2 separate regions of the Homo sapiens genome follow, and region 1 is linked to region 2. The links are contacts of gene promoters, found by promoter capture Hi-C in blood cells and fetal thymus (Javierre and others, 2016). All regions are on one chromosome and are shown on one strand. The core of a region is centred on a gene start or on the middle of the fragment in contact, and the rest is flanking DNA. Distances in the headings are between cores, read along the strand shown.

Evidence for each region. The method cuts DNA at HindIII sites, captures the fragments that hold promoters and counts their contacts. A CHiCAGO score of 5 or more calls a contact.
Region 1: a fragment that was not itself captured here is called in contact with the fragment with the promoter of PHC1 in region 2 in 2 of 17 cell types (naive CD8 T cells and fetal thymus); the score reaches 5.6 in naive CD8 T cells.

Annotation. Positions count from the first base shown.
Region 1 is chr12:8,638,448-8,643,859 of GRCh38, forward strand. No RefSeq gene overlaps it. Among named protein-coding and RNA genes, the nearest start is that of MFAP5, 22 kb to the right of the region's middle. RefSeq lists enhancers at 1-519, 727-1,643. The HindIII fragment of the contact is 9,502 bases long and covers 1-5,412 here.
Region 2 is chr12:8,911,651-8,917,673 of GRCh38, forward strand. It overlaps PHC1 (polyhomeotic homolog 1), which reads left to right and starts at 2,859. Exons shown (of 15, transcript NM_004426.3): 1 at 2,859-3,177; 2 at 5,980-6,023. RefSeq lists an enhancer at 1-544 and silencers at 2,741-2,850, 2,901-2,950, 3,021-3,310. The HindIII fragment of the contact is 8,234 bases long and covers 1,937-6,023 here.

The sequences.
Region 1 (5,412 bases), core at 2,104-4,603, 270 kb before region 2:
AACAGATATGGGAATGGGAGGAAAGAGCCCAGGATATCAGTGGAAAGTTCACTTGGCCAAAACTAGGCAGCAGATGTGTAGAGGAGAACTAAAGGCAGTGAGCAGATGTATGCCTTCCCTGAACAGGAGCATGATAAATTTATAGTATAATTTAAAGCATTACTTTATTTTTTATTATCAAAAATGATAAAAACCTGAAAAGAAAACAAGACAATGAATGTCATTGTAGGAGGCAAAAGGTGTTATTAAAAGCAGAAAGAAACAACTTGAGCAATAAAGTGACTCTAGGCCGGCCGCGGTGGCTCACGCCTGTAATCCCAGCACTGTGGGAGGCTGAGGCGGGAGGATCATGAGGTCAGGATTTCAAGACCAGCCTGACCAACACGGTGAAACCCCGTCTCTACTAAAAATACAAAAATTAGCCGGGCGTGGTGGTGCACGCCTGTAATCCCAGCTACTCAGGAGGCTGAGGCAGGAGAACTGCTTGAACCCGGGAGGCAGAGGTTGCAGTGAGCTGTGATTGTGCCATTGCACTCCAGCCTGGGTGACACAGCATCTCAAAAAAAAAAAAGAAGTGACTCTAATTTAATCTTCAAATGCAGAGGCCATGTCTTAGTTAACTTTGCATCCCAGCACTGCCCTGGGCACTTGGTGTTCAAAAGTTGTTTGTTGACTAAAGGATAATGACTCACTCACATTTACATAGGGCCTATGTGCCGGTGCTACCCTAAACCACTTAATTCATTTAATCTCGCAGTAGCCTTAAGGGTTTTGTATCACTGATCTCTTTTACAGATGAGAAAAGTGAGGCATAGAATGGTTTGAATCATAATGGTGGGGCGGAGGCTAAAGTAACTCCATCTTGGCTGCTAAAACACCACGTTGACTTCTGATTAACCCCCAGTTCCAGTAATACCTCTAAGATCTCTACTTTATCTACTGTTAAGAACACATATTTACCATAAGTCTAGCCCCTAGATTAAAACAACCTTGATGTTATCATAAACAGGCACTTACTATGAATCCTGCCCTTAAGCAAATTATAGGCTATGATTCAGGTAGCATTCTTGCCTTTCCCTGAGGGGTGGCCTTCAATTGTCCTACACAACCCTTCTGAAGCACGGATGCCCTTTCCCTATGGTATGTAAGCCCTGGGTCTGGGTTGGGGTAACAGCAAGGGGATCCACCATCTTGCAGATGCCTGGGACATGGCTTCTGCTTTTAAGTTCTTATTAAATGTTTTTTTTGCTGAGAAACTGGGCATGTCTGCCTCTTTATCTGGCCTTTCAGCTCCCTCAGCCTTTGGGGGTAGGTTTGCATAGGCCTCCTCCCCGTAGAAGAGGTGGAGTCAGGATTTGCACCCATATAGTCTAGCTCCAGAGTATGTGCTCTGACACATAGGCTATCCTTCCTGAAGGAGTCAGTCAAAGAAATCAGGATAAAGAGAAAGACTGATGAGCCAGTAAACACACTGATTCTCTACCCTTCCGAGAAGAGGAAAAATCGGAACCTCTTTGGCCTTTTCCAGGTTCTTGTTTCTGGCCAGATTCATAGCTAACAGCCACTGGCTGAGTCTCCACAGAATTCCTGGGGAGTGTATGTGATGTGTGAAAACAAAAGAGACACCTGTGCTCTGACTCAACTTGTTTGTTTTTGTGTTTGTTTGCTTGTGAGACAAGGCTCTCACACCTTTTGTTGCCCAGGGTGGCCTTGAACTCCTGGGCTCAAGGAGTCTTCCTGCTTCAGCCTGTGGAGTAGCTGGGATTATAGGCAGGAACCACCACACTAAGTTTCTCTGCCTCAGTTCTGAATAAGAGAGCACTTCACATCCAGTGGACATGAAAGCATTCTACACCTTGAGGTAAGCAAGAAAACAAGCAGGGCCATAGCCTCTAGTTCTAGTTTCCAAAATAAATAAAATCTTCAAGTCTCCTCCATAAGTTACTGACTCTGTCATGCAAACAACTGCACTCTGACTTTGCCAATGGCAATCTCTGAAGGTGGGTAATAATCTTTGAGGATATGAGAACCATATACAAAAAAAAAAAAATCGGACAGGTTGTGGTGGCTTATGCCTGTAATCCTAGCACTTTGGGAGGCCAAGGCAGGAGGATCACTTGAGGCCAGGAGTTCGAGATCAGCCTGGCCAAAATAACGAAACCCCAAAATACAAAAACAATGAGCTGGGCGTGGCGGTGCATGCCTGTAATCCCAGCTATTCAGGAGGCTGAAGCGTAAGAATCCCTTGAACCTGGGAGGCGGAGGTTGCACTAAGCCAAGATCACACCACTGCACCCCAGCCTGGGCCACAGAGTAAGACTCTGTCTCAAAAAAATAAAAAATAAAAAATAAAAAATCCCACCACGAACAGATAAACAGTAAGTCTAGTGACTTTAGGAATCTAATTTGTTTCTCTTTCAGTAGGTTGTATTTTTTATTCCAGTTTTTCTAAGGTGTAGCCTCCCAAACAAGCCTTTGGCAAGCAAGTAAACTACTCCTTTGTCTTGGAGTCTTCCTTTTGCAACTGGATTAACTTTTAGAACTTTTAGACCTTTGAGAAGTTTTAGAGTTTTAGAATTCAGGCGTGGGTCTGCCGCACCAAAACTGTGTGAACTTGGTCAGGTCTTATTAAACCTTTTTCTCTGTCTGAAAAATATGAATAATAATACTTCTGCTTCCCACCACACAGGGAATATGATGTTTGTTTAAAAAAAAAGCACAGAACACTTTATTAAAAAGTTGTTGTTGTTGTTGTTGTTTTAGTCTATTTTGTGTTATTGAGTCTGTCACCAACTGAGTAATTTATAAAGAAAAGAAATTTATTTCTCACAGTTCTGGAGGCTGAGAAGTCCAAGAACATGGTGCCATCATCTGATGAGAGTCATCCCATGGTGGAAGGACAGCAAGTGCAAGCAAACTGGTGAGGCAGAGAGAAGAAATCGGGCAAAACTCCCTTTTATTATAAACCCAGTCTCGTGATAACTAACCTACCCCTGCAATAACAGCAGCAGTAATCCATTTATGATCGATTTGCCATCACCTAATCACCTCTTTTCTTTTCTTTTCTTTTTTTTTTTTTTTTGAGATGGAGTCTTGCTCTGTCACCCAGGCTGGAGTACAGTGGTGCGATCTCGGCTCACTGCAAGCTCCGCCTCCCAGGTTCAAGCAATTCTCATGGCTCAGCCTCCTGAGTAGCTGGGATTACAGGCATCCACCACCACACCTAGCTAATTTTTGTATTTTCAGGAGAGACGGGGTTTCACCATATTGGCTGGAGTTGGCTGGTCTTGAACTCCTTACCTCAAGTGATCTTCCTGCCTCAGCCTCCCAAAGTGTCGAGATTACAGATGTGAGCCACTGCTCCCGGCCCTAATCATTTCTTCTTCTTTTTTTTAAGATAGAGTTTCGCTCTTGTTGCCCAGGGTGGAGTGCAATGGCACAATCGTGACTCACTGCAGCCTCCACCTCCTGGGTTCAAGCGATTCTCCTGCCTCAGCCTCCCAAGTAGCTGGAATATAGGCACCCACCCCTACGCCTGGCTAATTTTTTGTATTTTTAGTAGAGACAGGGTTTCGCCATGTTGGCCAGATTGGTCTCGAACTCCTGACCTCAGATTATCCCCCTGCCTCGGCCTCCCAAAGTGCTGGGATTATAGCATGCCCGACCCCTAATCACCTCTTAAAGACCCCACATCAATTAAAACTCAACATGAGTTTGGGAGGGGACAAACATTCAAACCATAACAATGCTGTCCTAGAGTTCCAAAGACCACATTTGGAATAATTCCACTTTTAAAAAAGTTTTACTTTTAAAAAATTGTTTTACAGACAGGATCTCACTCTGTCACCCAGGCTGTTGTACAGTGATACCATCATAGCTCACTGTAACCTCGGCCTCGTGGGCTCAAGCAATCCTCCTGCCTCAGCATACCCAGTAGCTGGGACTACAGGGGCAGCTACCATGCCTGGCTAGTATTTTAATTTTCTGTAGAGACAGTCTTGCTATGTTTCTCAGGCTAGTCTTGAACTCCTGCCTTGGTCTCCCAAAGCGTTGGGATTACAGATGTGAGCTACTGAGTCTGGCCAAAAAAAAAATTTTAATTACATTTAAATTAGGACCAGGAACAGCGGCTCATTCTTGTGATCTCAACACTTTGGGAGGCCGAGGTGGGAGAATCACTTGAGGCTGGGAGTTCAAGACTAGTCTGGGCAACATAGCCAGACCCCCATCTGTATGAGGAAAAAAAAAAGGTACATTTAAACACACTTTAAACAGTAGAGAAACTAGTATCTCTGGTATTGCACATTTTTTGCAAGTTTCCTACTCATTGGCTAGCCAGCAAGATTCATCTGTTTCGTTACAAGGGAAAGAATGGAAAAGCCAACCTACTCAAGAACAGTTTAACAGAAACCAATCAGCTTAAGTAGAAAAAAAAAAATCCTATAGTCTTATTAATTAATTAATAAGTCTTACTTAATAGTTAATAGTTAATAATACTTAATAGTTAATAGCTAATACTTAATAGTTAATAAGTCTTAATTAATAGTCTTACTAAACCTTTGAACACATAATCTTGTTAATTCACAGAACCACCCCTAAGGCAGGTATGTTGCCACCAATTTACAGCTGAGAAGCTACTTGCTTGGCATCATACCACTAGTGAGTGCCAAGTCTGGACTGGCACTGAAACAAAGACCAATTATTTGAAATTAAAATGAACAGGATAAGTGTCACTTTTTTTTTTTTTTTTTTTTTTTTTGAGACGGAGTCTCGCTCTGTCACCCAGGCTGGATGCAGTGGCGCCATCTCGGCTCACTGCAAGCTCCGCCTCCCGGGTTCACGCCGTTCTCCTGCCTCAGCCTCTCCGAGTAGCTGGGACTACAGGCGCCCGCCACCACGCCGGGCTAATTTTTTTTTAATTTTAGTAGAGACGGGGTTTCACCGTGGTCTCGATCTCCTGACCTCGTGATCCACCCGCCTCGGCCTCCCAAAGTGCTGGGATTACAAGCGTGAGCCACCGCGCCCGGCCAAGTGTCACTTTTATTGTACCTAGAACCATGTTGATTTGGGGATCTAGACATCCCATATATCAATGATGTAATAATTTTTTTTAGTTTCTACATGACAAGAGAGAAATTACTGCTACTACGTCCGGCTGATTTTTGTGTTTCTAGTAGAGATGGGGTTTCGCCATGTTGGCCAGGCTGGTTTCAAACTTCTGACCTCAGGTGATCTGCCTGCCTCACCTTCCCAAAGTGCTGGGATTACAGGTGTGAGCCACCGCGCCTGGCCTGCTTATTTGTGTTACTACTACTTCATTCCCCATTCCCCTAAAATCTCATCCATTTTCAAGAATAGATGGATTTATAGAGGTTTATACAAATGGAAGAAATGTTTCTTTGTACAATTCTC
Region 2 (6,023 bases), core at 1,609-4,108:
ATGGTGGTTCACAGCCACAGTTGGTGGTGGGGAGAGTAAAGGTTATGATTTCCTTTTTTCTCTACTTCTTCCTATCCATATTTGCATAAAAACATGGTCACACATTCTTACTTGATTACTTGTAGAAAGACACATTCCAAAGATACTAACACCTTTAGGGTAAAGGACATCTCTTCCTTCACAATTTATTGCAGAATGCTAGGTTTACAGGAGAAGCTTGAGGAATGCTTAAGCAATGTTCAGTTGATATGAAAAGTTCTATTAGCTTAACTTCTAGTCTATTTGCTTCAGTTGCTGCCAAACATCGACAGCCTTTCAAACCAGGATCCTTCCTTATTTAGAGAAGTTTGCAGGAGGGCTTCCATTTCCATACACCGGATTAAATGCTTTTCCTTCTCACCTGTTTAGGCTAATGGCCTTCAGTGTTATGCAGAGTAAAGACATTCTGTAGCCTCCATTCAGAAGAACCATTTTGTTTGAAAAAGAAAAGTCTAATTCAAGCAGAGTCATTAAATGAAAATGAGAAACTTTAGAAAAATTAAGAAAAAAAAGTTGAGTATTCTCTAGGGAACACAGATTGTTTTGCTGTTTAGACCGAGATAAGTTCTTCAATGCCTGCTCTCAAGCTGATTTAGTCTATGAAAATGATTTTCTTATGGATGGAGGCTTTCCTATAACTTTACTTTGCTGTTGATATATTTCTTTTTTATACTAAATCTTTTTTGGTGGGAACTGTTTAGACCTATGACCTTAGAACACTGGCCTGACTTGGAGAAAAATGAACTTGAAAAGAATCCTGTGATATATGGAGCACACACCTTTACATATAAAAATTAAACTACTGGCCCATAATCAGTATAGCTCGCCTCATGATAGATTATTCTCAGGCTAAATTTATAACAGGCACTCAACAAAAGTATTCATCGCTTATCCCCTAACATTATCTAGTAGCTATAGGAGCCGGTGACCTAGTAAATAAAAAAAAAAAATCTTTAGGGGTGGAATGTAACTATATGCAGTAGCGGTAATTCTGCTCCATTTGTAAGGAGGGTGAAATGCGATATGGTCATGTACCCTCTTGGTACACAAGTTCCATAGGCTATAGAAAAACAAGTCCATACCCTCTGATATCTGCATTCCTTATTCTTGTTATAGCTTACAAATCTTCTTTAGACACTTAACAGTGATAATTCTCCCAGGGAAACTAAGGAAGCACATGAGTCATGTTTCTTAACTTTAATGTTGTATAATCTGAAAATTATCTATAGATGCTTTTTTTTTCCATTGGTGCTAGAAAATTCCGCCTAGGCTCAATCGATATCCATTTCTAAACTTCTGCAAGAAAGCTTTAACTGCTTTGACATGCCAAAAATCCAGGTGTGAATTAAACAACGAATGCTTTACCTCGTTTTCACCACTAGTTCTACCAGTCAGAATCTTTTCAAATCATCCTCAGCCAGTGCCTGTCATCCACGGCCTGGTAACACACCCTTTCACCTCCTCATACCCCGTGTCTTCGCTTTTCCAGTCCTTTGGCTGCCCTCCGGTTTCTTCCCTCACATACCTGTCTGACTAGTTCCTAGAAGCCTGGCAGAAATTGTTCTCCGATTTTAATCTGGCTGCCACAAATGAAAGACCTTGGAGTCCAAATACTCCTCTCTCAAAGCAAAATCTAAATGGATATAATTTATAAGCAAAGATAACACTTCTGTTTTTTTCTCTATAAACAAACCATGCATGGGCTTTTAAAGGAGAAAAGGAAGAGTGGATTGACAGAGAAAATAACTGTTTAGGATAGAGGTTAGGAAAAGACTGAGAGCAAGAGAAAAGGCATCAATCCCAGTTGTTAATCCACGAGGCATCCCCCAGACCCTTCTGTAAAGGTTAATGAAGGCAGTAAGGCAGTTATCTTTGTTTCGTGCACTGATGCAATCCAAGCTTCCACGGTTTAGCACATAGTAGACGCTCTATAAATATTTATTGAATGTTGAACGATGAGAGAGTAATTAAAAACCGGTAAGTTGATATCATAAATACAACGACAACGGCTCCCCTATCAAATGTTTAGTGTTCCCAGAGACAGCCCCATTGTTCTACATCTCGTTATACTCTGGCCTTTTCCCGTTTTTGTCATTCGAACTCATATACATATTGAAATCGAAGCACACACAAATCCCTGAAATGACAAACTTAAATGCTATCCAAAGGAAGTTACATTAGGTTGCTGCTTTGAAAATGAAGTCAACTCCTAATGGGTTAGCTGTTTCTGCAGCATTCTTTCCCGCCTTCTTGGAGTTGAGGTGAGGGATTAAACAATCAACCTTCTCTCTCCTTTCTCTCATTCTCAAAGTTTTTCTCGCCTTTTCCTTCCTTTCCTTTGCTTCATTTCTTTTCCCAGTCTATCGTTTCTCTAGGGGTCGTTGCTTTGCTCTTTCTCCCTCTCTGTCTGTTGGTCCCTTTGATCCTTTCTTTCTACCCCTTATTCCCAGCAGCTCCAGAAAATACCTTCTTTCTCCCCGTCTCACGTCACTTCCCTCCCTTCTCCCATCTCCCTCTCCTCTCCGAGAGGTGCGTTCCCCACTAGAGGCCAGCACTTTCTTAGTTTCGTCCTTCCAACCGGCGAGCAGAACTCGGAGAGAAAGAAGGGGGTAAAAAAGAGGAGAAAGAGAGCAAGAGAGGAAAAAACCCCTGGGCCTGGAGCGCAGAGGCCCGGGAGCTGCGTCGCCATGGCAACGGGCGCCGGCAGGAAACGAGGGACGCGCGGGAGGGAGGGGGCGGAGGGCGCCGAGGGGAGGCGGAGGGACGGCGGGGGGGGGGTCCGGCTGCCCCGGAAGCACCTCCCCGCAGCCCCCTCCTCCAGCCCGGCCCGCAGCCCCTGGCCTGCGGCCCCCACCTTCTCGGCCGGGCAGGAAGTGACAGGCCCGGAGCGAGCCCCGGAGGCCTGGCTGAGCCGCGGCCGGGCCCGCACCCGGAGCGGCGGGAGGGGCGGGGAGCCGCGGTCGCGCCGGGCGCCTCCCACCCCGCCCTCGGCGCCCCCGCCCCTCCAGGAAGGGGAGGAGGCGAGGGGAGCCCGCCGCGGAGGCCGAGCGAGCCCCCAGCCCAGCCTGGCGACTGGGGACCCCGGCACATGAGGTGGACGCCCCCGGGGAAGACTTGGGTGCACAGCCAGGCGAGAAGGTAACCGGGCGACCGAGGGCCGGGGAGGGGCAGGACCTCTGGGGGCTTGGCTGCGCGGGGATGTATCCTCAGCCACCTCCATCTGTGTAACGCCCCAGGTACCTCCCCCAGTTGCTTTCCCTGCCTACCTCCGGCGCTGAGCTCTGCGGTCCTTCGGCTCTGCCTGTCCGAGTCTTCTGGCTATTCATTCTGCTGCGCTTCATGCTGTCTGTCCGTCACCCTAGCTGCCTCTGACTGCTCATTTTCTTATTCATTTTTCCTTCTCTGACTTTGGTCCTTCCAGCCGAGCATGCTGTCTAGTTATCTCCCTGCTTTCGTGGTCCGCTGGGTTCCTCAGCCTCCAGTTCCTTGACTTCTGCCTCTGCTCTCTGTATGCACATGTCCCAGCTCACTTGGGTCAGTTCATTCCCGGCGCACCACTGGATCCACCCCCTTCCCCCAGTGTATTTGATTTCTCTTTGAAACATCATTTTCATCAAGGTTCTATATAGAACGAGGACCCTTGGGCGTCTACTCCCTGTTCTCTTGATTATTACCGTGTCTTTGGCACAGTCTTCCCTGAACCACCCCCTTCTCCCGTCCCCCTTCCTATGTCCCATCCTTTCTGCATGATAAGAGTTTCGTGCTTAGGGATATTGACTTTCTCCAACTCTCGGCCCAATGCTAAGTCCACCTCAATGTCCCATTCTAACTCCCTTCGGTAGGTCTGTGCGCCTACCCAACCCCATGTATGCCCACATGCTACCTTTTAAGATGACCATGGCTTAGCTACTCTGGGGGCATCTGTGGATCAGCTTCTCACTGTCTTCCAGTTTAATTTGGAAAATTTTGATACCTGGTGCTGCCCAAACTGTTTGTTGTCTCCATTTTTTATATTTAATCTTGTAGTCATAATGTTGATCACAAATGAATACATTTATGTGCCCGGGATCCAGGAATCCTGGTTTTGGTGGCAGTTTCCCTTGATTTTATTGAGACTTTTAAGTTGGTCCCTTTACATTTTTATTTCTAGTTCACAATCCAAAAAAAATTATTAATCAGAATTCAGGTTTGGGAAGACGAGGGGTCATACGGTTTGTATTTTCACATGTGAATGTAGGAATTATGTTCTCTATACCTAGCAAAGGGGTCTCGTGTCTCTGAGTCCAGTGAACTAAATCCAGTAATCTATAAAACTGTGCCGTGCTGCCTCTAATCCTTACCCACTTTTTTTCTTCACATGCTGATAATGAGGATTCATGGGTCTGTATCTGTTTAGTGCTTTGATATTTTGGCAAAAGATGTGGGGAGAAGGTAGACTAGTTGAAGCTGATATGATTTTTCCTATGTACTTTTTGGGTAATATACATGTTTGCAGTGACATTTGCTAGTCCTAAATGAAACTAAAGACTGGGGGGGGATAATAGTGTGATTGGATGATACTGGGAATGAGATAATAAGAAATATCCTCAGCTTTATTGCCAAGGCCAAGCAGTTTGATACTTTGCTTGTTTGTTTGTTTTGGATGCAATCCCTAAGACCAGTCCATTCACCCTAATGAAACTGTTGACAACACTTAGCAGAAATTCTGGTTTGATGTTTATATTCTTAAGCCAGATAATATTTTGGTGACCTGATATTTCTAGTGGCCCAGTGCCTCAGAAGTAGAGAAAATAGTGTGTAGCTTAACAAAAGAGAAAAACAAAAAAAAAGAATGAGTAAAAACCTTATTGTCATTTAGTGCTGCTTTGGAAGAATATTTCTTCTTCTCATCTCCTGCCTCTTTGCTTGGTTCTTAGCAGTGTTTTCATATGTGTCTTTTTGCAAATGTAAGTGTAGTCCCCAGTGGGTAAATTCTGACATGTTAGTAGATTATAAAGTTGCATCTTACTTTCTTGAAGATTTTCATTGTGTGTATTTCTATGTTTCATACTCCGGAGTCATTTCTTAAAATGATATATTACATTCAGTATGAAGCCTCCTTTGCAGTGAGGAAACAGGTATAAGGAAGGAAAGCAACATGCCTGAGGTGTTATTAGTAGCCTGAGCTGGAACCAGGCAGCTATTTGGGCTATGTGGGCTGTAGGTGAGCTCTTCTGCTTCCTAGTTTTATGACCTTCCATGACCCACTGAATGTGTCTGTATCTTAAGGTCCTCCTCCATAAAATGAGGATAACTACTCACTATCATAGTGAATGACACTGCCTTAATTACAGTTTGGTTTGAAGAAGCATGTGTTAGTCCAAAGACTTGATACTTACTAGGGCAACTTCTTTAACCTCAGAAAACCTTATGTCTCAAATTGTAGAATGAGGATAACAGTGTTGACTTTACAGCACTACTATGAGAGAGATACAGCATAGGTGAAGTGCCTAGCCCAGTGAAAGGAGGCAACTAGTGGCTCTCCAGTATATGGTGACTCATTTGGATGATAACGATGCAGATGGAGACAAAAATGAGATAACCAAAACTTTTAAGTGGAAAGATTTTAAACTGTTAAAAAATGCTATGGGAATGTAAGGTAACTTTGGTATTGTAAGGTGCCATCTCACATTCTGGCCGTTTTATTTAATGACAGCCATGAGGGAATACGTAAAGGTTGTTTCTTTTGAGACTGCATAGCTTCAAAAGATGGTAGTATTGGGAAGACATGGTTGCAAGAGTGTATTGAAGATTTGGGAGTTTTAAGATGAGAAATCATGGCTTATGGAAGAGGAGGAAGATTCTTAGATACTTATGGATTTCCTGTGTTTTTGAATAATAACATGAGATAACAGCTTGGGATCAAGATATAAATTTTAACCTTTTACTGCTTCCCTCTAGGTCTTGAGTCAGACAGAGCACCAGCCTTGGGGACCCTGGACCAC